2 separate regions of the Homo sapiens genome follow, and region 2 is linked to region 1. The links are contacts of gene promoters, found by promoter capture Hi-C in human tissues and cell types (Jung and others, 2019). All regions are on one chromosome and are shown on one strand. Each heading gives the region's core, a stretch centred on a gene start or on the middle of the fragment in contact. The rest is flanking DNA. Distances are from core to core; before and after follow the strand shown. Region 1 holds the start of SNX30 (sorting nexin family member 30). Region 2 overlaps SHOC1 (shortage in chiasmata 1).

Region 1 (4,206 bases), core at 964-3,463:
CTGGGGGGAAAAACCAGTTGCCACATCAAACAGCCCTATGGAGAGTAACTAAGACCTGCCAACAGCCATGTGAGTGAGCTTAGAAGTGGATCCTCCCCTAATCCAGCCTTCAGATGACTGCAGCCCAAGCCAACAACTTGACTGCAACCTCAAGAAAGGCCTAATTCAGAACCACTCAGATTGTCCCACAGACACTATTTCCAGGTGATAAGTTTTGGGGTAATTTGCTACACAGCAATAGATAATTAATTCAGTGTCCCACACAGAACTGAGAAGGAAATGAGGTTTAACCCCCAGTTCCTACACTATTTTAAGACCAATTTTTGTCGATAAGAAAGCAAATTTATTCAGTTATTCAACATTTTTTGGAGACAGGGTCTCACTCTCTTGCCCAGGCTGGAGTACAGCGGTGCAATCATAGCTCACTGCAGCCTTGAACTCCCAGGCTCAAGCAATCCTCCCGCCTCAGCCTCCTGAGTAGCCTGGATTACAGGTGCATGCCACCATGCTGTGTGCGTATGTGGAAACGGGGTCTCGATATGTTGCCCAGGCTGGTCTCAAACTTTTGGTTCAGAGCAATCATCCCACTTCAGCCTCCCAAAGTGCTGGTATTACAGGTGTGAGCCACTGCACCTGGCCTCCATTAGCTTTTTTAATTTTCCTGTTCCTAATGCTTTGGAACTTCACTCCCTGCTTTCACAAACCCTCTGCAGAAGGTACATCAAGTCGCACTCTCTAGTGATTTTAAGTGCTCAGTGACCTTCTGACTGCAAGGAGGGCAGGTTATATTTTCTCATACTCCTTTTTCACTGTACCACATGGTGTCCCCTCTAACGGGAGAAGAAAGTTAGGTCCCCTGCTCCCATTAATATTGGGACAAGGGGGAATTCATTTAGTATTTTACTAGGGAGAGAAAATCTTGATCACAAGACCTGAGAACAATTCTAATTTCTGCAGTTAGTGACTAAGTGACGGCAGGAGCGGGGATACAATCACTGCTCAAGTCTCCTTCACAGCTGAAATGGCCATGGGGGTAGGGAGGAGGTCGTCCCTTACCCCTGCCTGGACTCTGCTGTCTCTCCAAGCAGCAGGAGGGTTGTGCTGCTCTAAGAAAATCTGGAGCCTCCCTCCGTACAAAGAAGGTCAAAGGGCGAGCTTTCTTTCCATCAACCACAAAACCAGCCTCTGCCAAACCTAAACAGAGTGGTAGGCCGTCGGAGGTGAATGGAGCCCCAGACAGAAAACCACAACGAGGCTCTCCTCCCGCCGCCGGCTGGGGTCTGAGTCAGGTGACTCCTCAGGACAAACAGCAAACCTAAACAAAGATCACTCCCCACATGACTGACTAGGGGGAAGAAGACTCTCGCTGTAAGCCCAGGGCTGCCCGGTCCCAGCACGGAAAGCCAGGAACTCCTGCTTTCTGTGCAGTCTCGGAAACTGGAGGAGCTACAAGTTATGCAGCAGCTCAGCCTGCAGGGATGCACCTGGAGGAACTCGGAACCCCATCCGAGGACACAGGCGCCCTGCCCTGAACACACGCCTCCCGCTCCAACACGCAGGCTGGACCCCTCCCCACCAGCTGTCACCGGTGCTTGCGACCAGTCACAGGCAGCGAAGCCTGTCCCTCTGCGGCTGCGACCCCGCGGAGGCGGCAGAGGAGACGCTTCGCCGAGGGCTCCGGGGCCAGGACACGCCCGTCCCCCGGGAAGGGGCGGCAGGGTGGGCGCGGCCCCAGGCCCACGAAGGCTCCGGATCCATCATCCCCCCCACGGGGAGCGAAATAAGCCTCCCACTCCCCGGCCCCAGGCGCCCCACCTTGTCACCGAAGCTGCGGGCCATCAGCAGGTCCGGGCTGGGCGTGCTGTCACCACCCACGGCCTCCTCGCTGCTGGAGCCGGCCAGCGGGTGCGGCATGTCGCGCAGGGAGTGGGGCCCCGTGGACGGCAGGGCCTTGGGGGGCCCGCCCGCCATGGCGCGCACCGCTCGGGACGCGCCGCCGCCGCTTCCTCCTGCTGCCCGCCGCGGCGAGCTCCCCGAGCACCCCGGGCCGAGCCCCGCTCGGCCGCCGCTTAACCCGAGGCCTTGCACCGGCCGTGCTGGGGGCCGCCGCCACCCGCCGGCTGGTCTCTGCCGGCGCTCAGACGCTCCGCTCCGCGCCGCGCGCCCCCGCTCCGCGCCCGAGCCCGCCGCGGGTCCGCTGGCAGCACGGCCGCGGCGCCCAGCCCACACAGCCACACCGCCCACCCGCTCCGGCCCCGCCCCCGAGGCGCCGCGGCCGCCCGGGAGGGGGCGGGGAGGGCGGGGAAGGGGCACGTGGGGAAGGAAGGACGGAGGGAGGGAGGGAGGAGGCGCGGCCCCGCCCCCGCCCGGCAGGAAGTGCGCCCTGGGCCTCTGCGGCTGTCCTCCCAGTGTCCAACGTTGCCTCGCGGAGGCCGCCGTGCGGAGCAAATGTCTAACGGAAATCAGAGGTGGAAAAGAGGTTGGAGGAGCCTGTTCCGTTCCACCCGCGTTTACTGATGCGCCCACCAGCAGCCACGCTTGGGGCTGGGGGCTTTGAGGACACGCACGTGAGTCAGGGTCTTCTGGCCTCTAAGGCACGCGCAGGAAGAACCCTAGATAGACGGAATTACGACCCATATCGGAAGAATAGCATAAAGGGCGACAAGGCTCAAATGAGCTAGAGGACATCGGGTGGGGAACCTGGAAGGGACTTCAAAGAGGCGGTGTGGGGAGTCTTCAGGCTCACTCTGAGGTCCCCATTGTGGCTTGCTTCTGCAGCTGAGCTGGATTTGTGTAAAGTCAAACCTCAGAACAGCGAGCATGAGTAGAGAGTCTCAAATGATATGCGACTCTTCAACTCACACTTTGGCCGAAGAGACTTTTGAAAGAACCATGAGGTTCAAGTTATTCTTCATGCATTTGTGCTTCCTTTCCAGGCCTTGGGCTGAGCTGATTCTCAGCTTTATTTGCTGGCGTGGTGCAAATAGTCAAGGTGTTACTTCCAGCCCTTTGGGGTGTAGGTTCACCTCCTTTTTCCACCTTACCTGTCCCTAGATCTTCTGTTTCCAAGGCCAAGTCTTTAAAGGGTTTTCAGTCCCTCTAGCAAAGTAATGGGTAGGGAGGCTCATCGTGAGGGACCACATTTTCCCTACCCATTCCAAACTCAAAGGTTTGCCTAGCCTTACCTGCTAAAAGGTGATGACAGATGTTGACTCTGGGATTCACTAAGGCCTCTACCACAGTTTTCTCTAGAAACAAATAGAAGAGAATGCAGAGGGTTGAAATCTACCCAAAATATCAGTCAGAGACTCTGAGCTTCAAAGACCTTCCCCTATTTCCCCCAATGTAATTTATATAGGGTTGGACCCTTAGTCCTCAAGCTATCATCTTTATCTCCTCCACATAAGCCTGCCTTGGCTGGGAAAAGTAGCATTCAAAGGGCACTGGGAACAATTTTAAATGCTGCATCTAAGGAATGCCAAGTTCTGGTCCTCTTGGAGTTGGATTAAAATTGTTAACACTTTCACATTCAAGGGCTGCTTACAACTACTACAGACCCTATTATCTGTTCTTCTGAATTAGCATGAAAATGAATAGCACAATATAACTAGAAATGAGTATTTCTAGAAATGAGTATATACATCTATAGATGTATAACATCGGTTTTTCTTATTGAATGGTGCTACTTATTTTAACAACCAGGCTGCCTTAAATATAATGGACATCCGTATGGATTAAGACTCTATACAAGCTTTCTCTTTAGTACACCAGGGGAAAGTGAAAAAAGAACCACATTTGAATTCGGCTTTGTCACTACAAGTGGGTGACCATGAGCAAGTTACTAACCTCAGTGAACCTGTTCCTAACCTAAAAAGGAGGAGAATGGAGAGCAGGTAATAATACCTTATGAGATGGTTGTGAGAGTTATATAGCATTCTTTATGTCATAGTCCTAGCAAAGTGCTGGCATAAAATAGGTGCTCCCTAAATGTTAATTACCTACCTTCCTTTCCCTTTCTGTCAGATTTTCTCTACTATTCTTATGAAATAATAAAGAGTTTTTGTAATTAAATATGCTTTACTATTCTGAGTAGGGTCTGGTTGAATATACATATATATACACACACATACACACCAGGTAGGGTGCCTCACACCTGTAATCCCAGCACTTTGGGAGGCCAAGGTGGGAGGATCACTTGAGCCCATA
Region 2 (4,014 bases), core at 102-2,601, 1.0 Mb after region 1:
ATATCTTTATCTTCTGGCTAAGAATTATTTACATTTCTAGAGTAAATTTGTGCTATACAGAGTTCTATCATGAACTAAGAATTGTCCATATCAGATATGAGCCCTAAAAAGAGCATAGGACAAGTATGGAAACTACATACACTTTGTTTAAATACTTTTAGTTCTCTTGATAAGGTACAAGATATTTATTTGCAGGACATATACTGTTTTTGTTAGTGCCCTTTTACTCTTTTATTTAGTCCATACACCCTAATCCATCTGTTATGACAGACTGGCATTTTTAGAAACAGAAACTAGCAGAAATTAGTATGATCTTTAATTTCAGTTTGATTTTAGAAGTATTTAAACCATAATAAGCTCTTTTTAATCACAAGTTATATGTCTATTGTTATAACTCAAATATCTAATAAGAATTTATGAAACAAATCTTAACTAATGACTTACGATTTGGCAAAGTTAGAAAAAAAAGGCTTTCAAATTAGCTAATGGTTTTAGAGCCATTTGAAACAACTGAAAGAAGTTTTCCCCTCACTACTACATTTACCAGCAAGAGATAAATCACTTCCATTTGTTTGGCAACTGTAAAAGCTTAAAAATCCATATTTTAAAAATGAGTTTACAGTAGTCCCCCTTTATGCCGGGAGAATAAATTCCAAGACCTTAAATGGATGCCTGAAACTGCGAATGTTATTGAACCCTATATATACTGTTTTTTCTCATATATTCATACCTATGATAAAGTTTAATTTATAAATTAGCCATAGTAAGACATTAACAGCAATAACTATAGTAAAATAGTAAAATAGAACGACCATAACAAATACCATCCTCATTACTCTTGTGCTTTGGAGTCATTATTAAATACAGAAGGGGTTACTTGAACACAAGCACTGTGATTCTGCAACAGCTGATCTGATAACTGAGAATGCTACTAAGTGACTAATGGGCAGGTAGTGAGTACATATAGTGTGGATATGCTGGGCAAAGGGATGATTCACATCCTGGGCGAGATGGTGTAGGATGGCATGAAATTTCATCACACTGCTCGCAACAGTGCAATTTAAAACTTATGAATTGTTTATGGAATATTCTGTTTAATAGTTTGGACTGCAGTTGAACACAGATAAATGAAACCGAGTATAGTGAACTCATGGATAAGGGGGAACTACTGTATATCTCAACTGTAAAACTAAAAACAAGGAGAAAAGGTGTTAAAATTTTTTTGAAAAAAAGAAGGAAAAATAACAAAGAATGTTATTGTAGCTTTAACTTATTTTTATGGTCCCAATTATTTTTATTTCAGAGCACAACATTTTGGCTGAAAATAATACCCAGTTAACAATATTTTTAGTGCCTACCACATATAAGATTCTATGCTAGATTTTATGGGCTAAAAAAGAAAAGTCTGTATGGCATAAGATTTTATTAAGCTACTAACTGACTGCTGACTTGTGAATATATTTTTATGAACAATGTATCAGATTCAGACATGCCTTCAGAAAGCTCCGTTAAGAGTGAAAATGTGTGTCTATATTGGACATGGCCTGCTAAATATAACACGTTCCTTTCACTTTAAAATAGTTGCTTACAATCTGAGGTGTTGTCAAAGAAACCTTGGTAAGATTCAGGAATTGTCTAGATTCTCAAATTTTCTATCACATGACCAGATTTTTGGATTATGTGGGTAAACTGGATGCCTTAGACATAAAACCTAGCTTTCCACTGCCCTAGACTGTCAATTTAACTGGCAATACTTATAATTAGCATGCTCATATATGTTCCATATGAACAGAGAAACAGAATACAATCAGTTCTCACTCAGGGTAGCAGGGAGCTTGGGACACAGATTAAGGGGTTTATGAATTAATAGTCTTTCCCCTACGAAGGCTAGTAGCATCATAGCTACAGATGAGCTGTAATTTACACTGATTGACATGCTTATTTTCTCCCTTCTCCCCCCGAGTACCCCTAAACACACATACACAGACACACATCACTCACTCACAAACCCACCAAGATTGAAGGTCTTGAACTAAACTTTAGGACTCTGCCATCTCCAGAGAAGGACTTTTTCACAGTTCTGATCCTCAGCCAGTAGAGGATCCAGAATTTCTATATGGAATGGACTTGGGGACAGCAATTTTATAAAAATTTTTGTTGAGGTTGCTATGTGCATGGTAAGCATGGTAATTTTACTTAGATTGTATTTTTATTTTTGGTGGCGTATAAGGTTGACGCTAGCATAGTTTATGGAGGGAAGTGCTAAAACTCTCCCAAGTCAGCCCTCTCTGGCTCCAGGTTCCATTGAGGGAGGTAGAGGTGGGAGTAATTTACAGTCAAGTAGGAACAATTGAGTTTACAAATTACCAAACTTTCCCAAGGATGGAGGAAGTGAGTACTGTGTTTGATATTTGGTCTGTAGAACTCGACTGCAGTTTACACATTTATAAAGTCAATTTTTCACTTGATTTTGAGTGTAAAAGTACTTTAAAAATACTTTTTAAAAATAAAATTTTGGGCCAGGCGCGGTGGCTCACACCTGTAATCCCAGCACTTTGGGAGGCCAAGGTGGGCGGATTACTTGAGGTCAGGAGCTGGAGACCAGCCTGGCCCACATGGTGAAACCCCGCCTCTACTAAAAATACAAAAATTAGTCAGGCATGGTGGCAGACGCCTGTAATCCCAGCTGCTCGGGAGCCTGAGACAGGAAAATCGCTTGAATCTGGGGCGGAGGTTGCAGTGAGCCAAGATAGTGCCACTGTACCCCAGCCTGGGCGACAGAGCGAGACTCTGCCTCAAAAAAATAAAATAAAATAAAATTTTATTATACAAAAGACTCAATATTATTAATGTATTAAACTTTAACTCTTTTTTTCAGTAATTTGCTTACTGCTGAAGAATCAGCTAATGAATACTACATGATGTGGCAATTAGAAAGATGTAGAAGCCCTTTGAACCCATTTTTGCTTACAGGTAAAGATTAATTGCCTTTAAGTGATAAATAGAAAGTATAGGTAAAAAGGTACAACGAGTAGAAATGTGGGATATCCTTTTTCTTTGACCATTTCTTAACAGAATATATAACTTCGCCTAAAGCTAAAATACCAAGATATCTTCCATAAGGTTCATTATGCTAGGTGCAGAAGTATATGACAAGATCCGGATCTTGCTGATTTTCTGGGTAATTCCTATACATGGGAGAAGGAAAAGAAAAGAAATGAAATACAAGTAGTACATAAAACTGTCCCATACAAGTAATTTGTATTTCCAAAGTTGTGAGTTGTTTGTAAAAAAAAATAAAAATAAAAAAAAATCTCATCTAATGTTAAAAGTTTTAGTTGCCCAAGCTTTCCAAAAAAGACGTTTAAAAACATTTTAACAACGGCCGGAAATTAGCCGGGAGTGTCGGAGCGCACCTTTAGTCCCAGCTAGTCGGTAGGCTGAGGCCCAAGAATCACTTGAAAACCTGGGAGGCGGAGGTTGCAGTGAGCCGAGATGGCGCCATTGCGCTCCAGCCTACGTGAAGGAGCAAGTCTCTGTCTCAAACAAACGAACAAACAAACAAAACAAAAAAAATGGCCGGGCACCGTGGCTCACACTTGTAATCCCAGCACTTTGGGAGGCCGACCCGGGCGGATCATTTGAGGCCAGGAGTTCGAGACCAGTCTGGCCAACATGTTGAAACCCCCTCTCTACTAAAAATACAAAAATTAGCTGAGCATGGTGGTGCACGCCTGTAGTCCCAGCTACTCTGGAGGCTGAGGCAGGAGAATCGCTCGAACCAGGGAGGTGGAAGTTGCAAGAGCTGAGATCACCACTGCACTCCAGCCTGAGCAACATGGTGAGACTCCATCTCAAAAATAAATAAATAACATTTTAGCAAAACTTGTTTATAGTTTAACAAAATAATTTTGAGGTTATACATTTCACATGTATATTCAAAATTTATCTGAGTAAGTTAAACTCTTGTCTGTGTCTGAACTATTCCATCACGGAAATGGAACTTTGGATAAG

Evidence for each region. Contacts are between HindIII fragments. The study calls those that stand out against the background at their distance.
Region 2: a contact is called between a fragment that was not itself captured here and the fragment with the promoter of SNX30 in region 1, in 2 of the 25 tissues and cell types used here (hippocampus and stomach).

The regions. Positions count from the first base shown.
Region 1 is chr9:112,748,767-112,752,972 of GRCh38, reverse strand. SNX30 (sorting nexin family member 30) reads right to left here and starts at 2,213. Exons shown (of 9, transcript NM_001012994.2): 1 at 1,816-2,213. The coding sequence starts at 1,971. SNX30-DT (SNX30 divergent transcript) reads left to right here and starts at 2,408. Exons shown (of 1, transcript NR_186503.1): 1 at 2,408-4,089. RefSeq lists enhancers at 525-1,444, 1,445-2,366 and a silencer at 1,636-2,455. The HindIII fragment of the contact is 10,773 bases long and covers 1-4,206 here.
Region 2 is chr9:111,740,435-111,744,448 of GRCh38, reverse strand. SHOC1 (shortage in chiasmata 1) reads left to right here. Exons shown (of 28, transcript NM_001378211.1): 11 at 2,879-2,973. Among named protein-coding and RNA genes, the nearest start is that of SHOC1, 52 kb to the left of the region's middle. The HindIII fragment of the contact is 7,015 bases long and covers 1-4,014 here.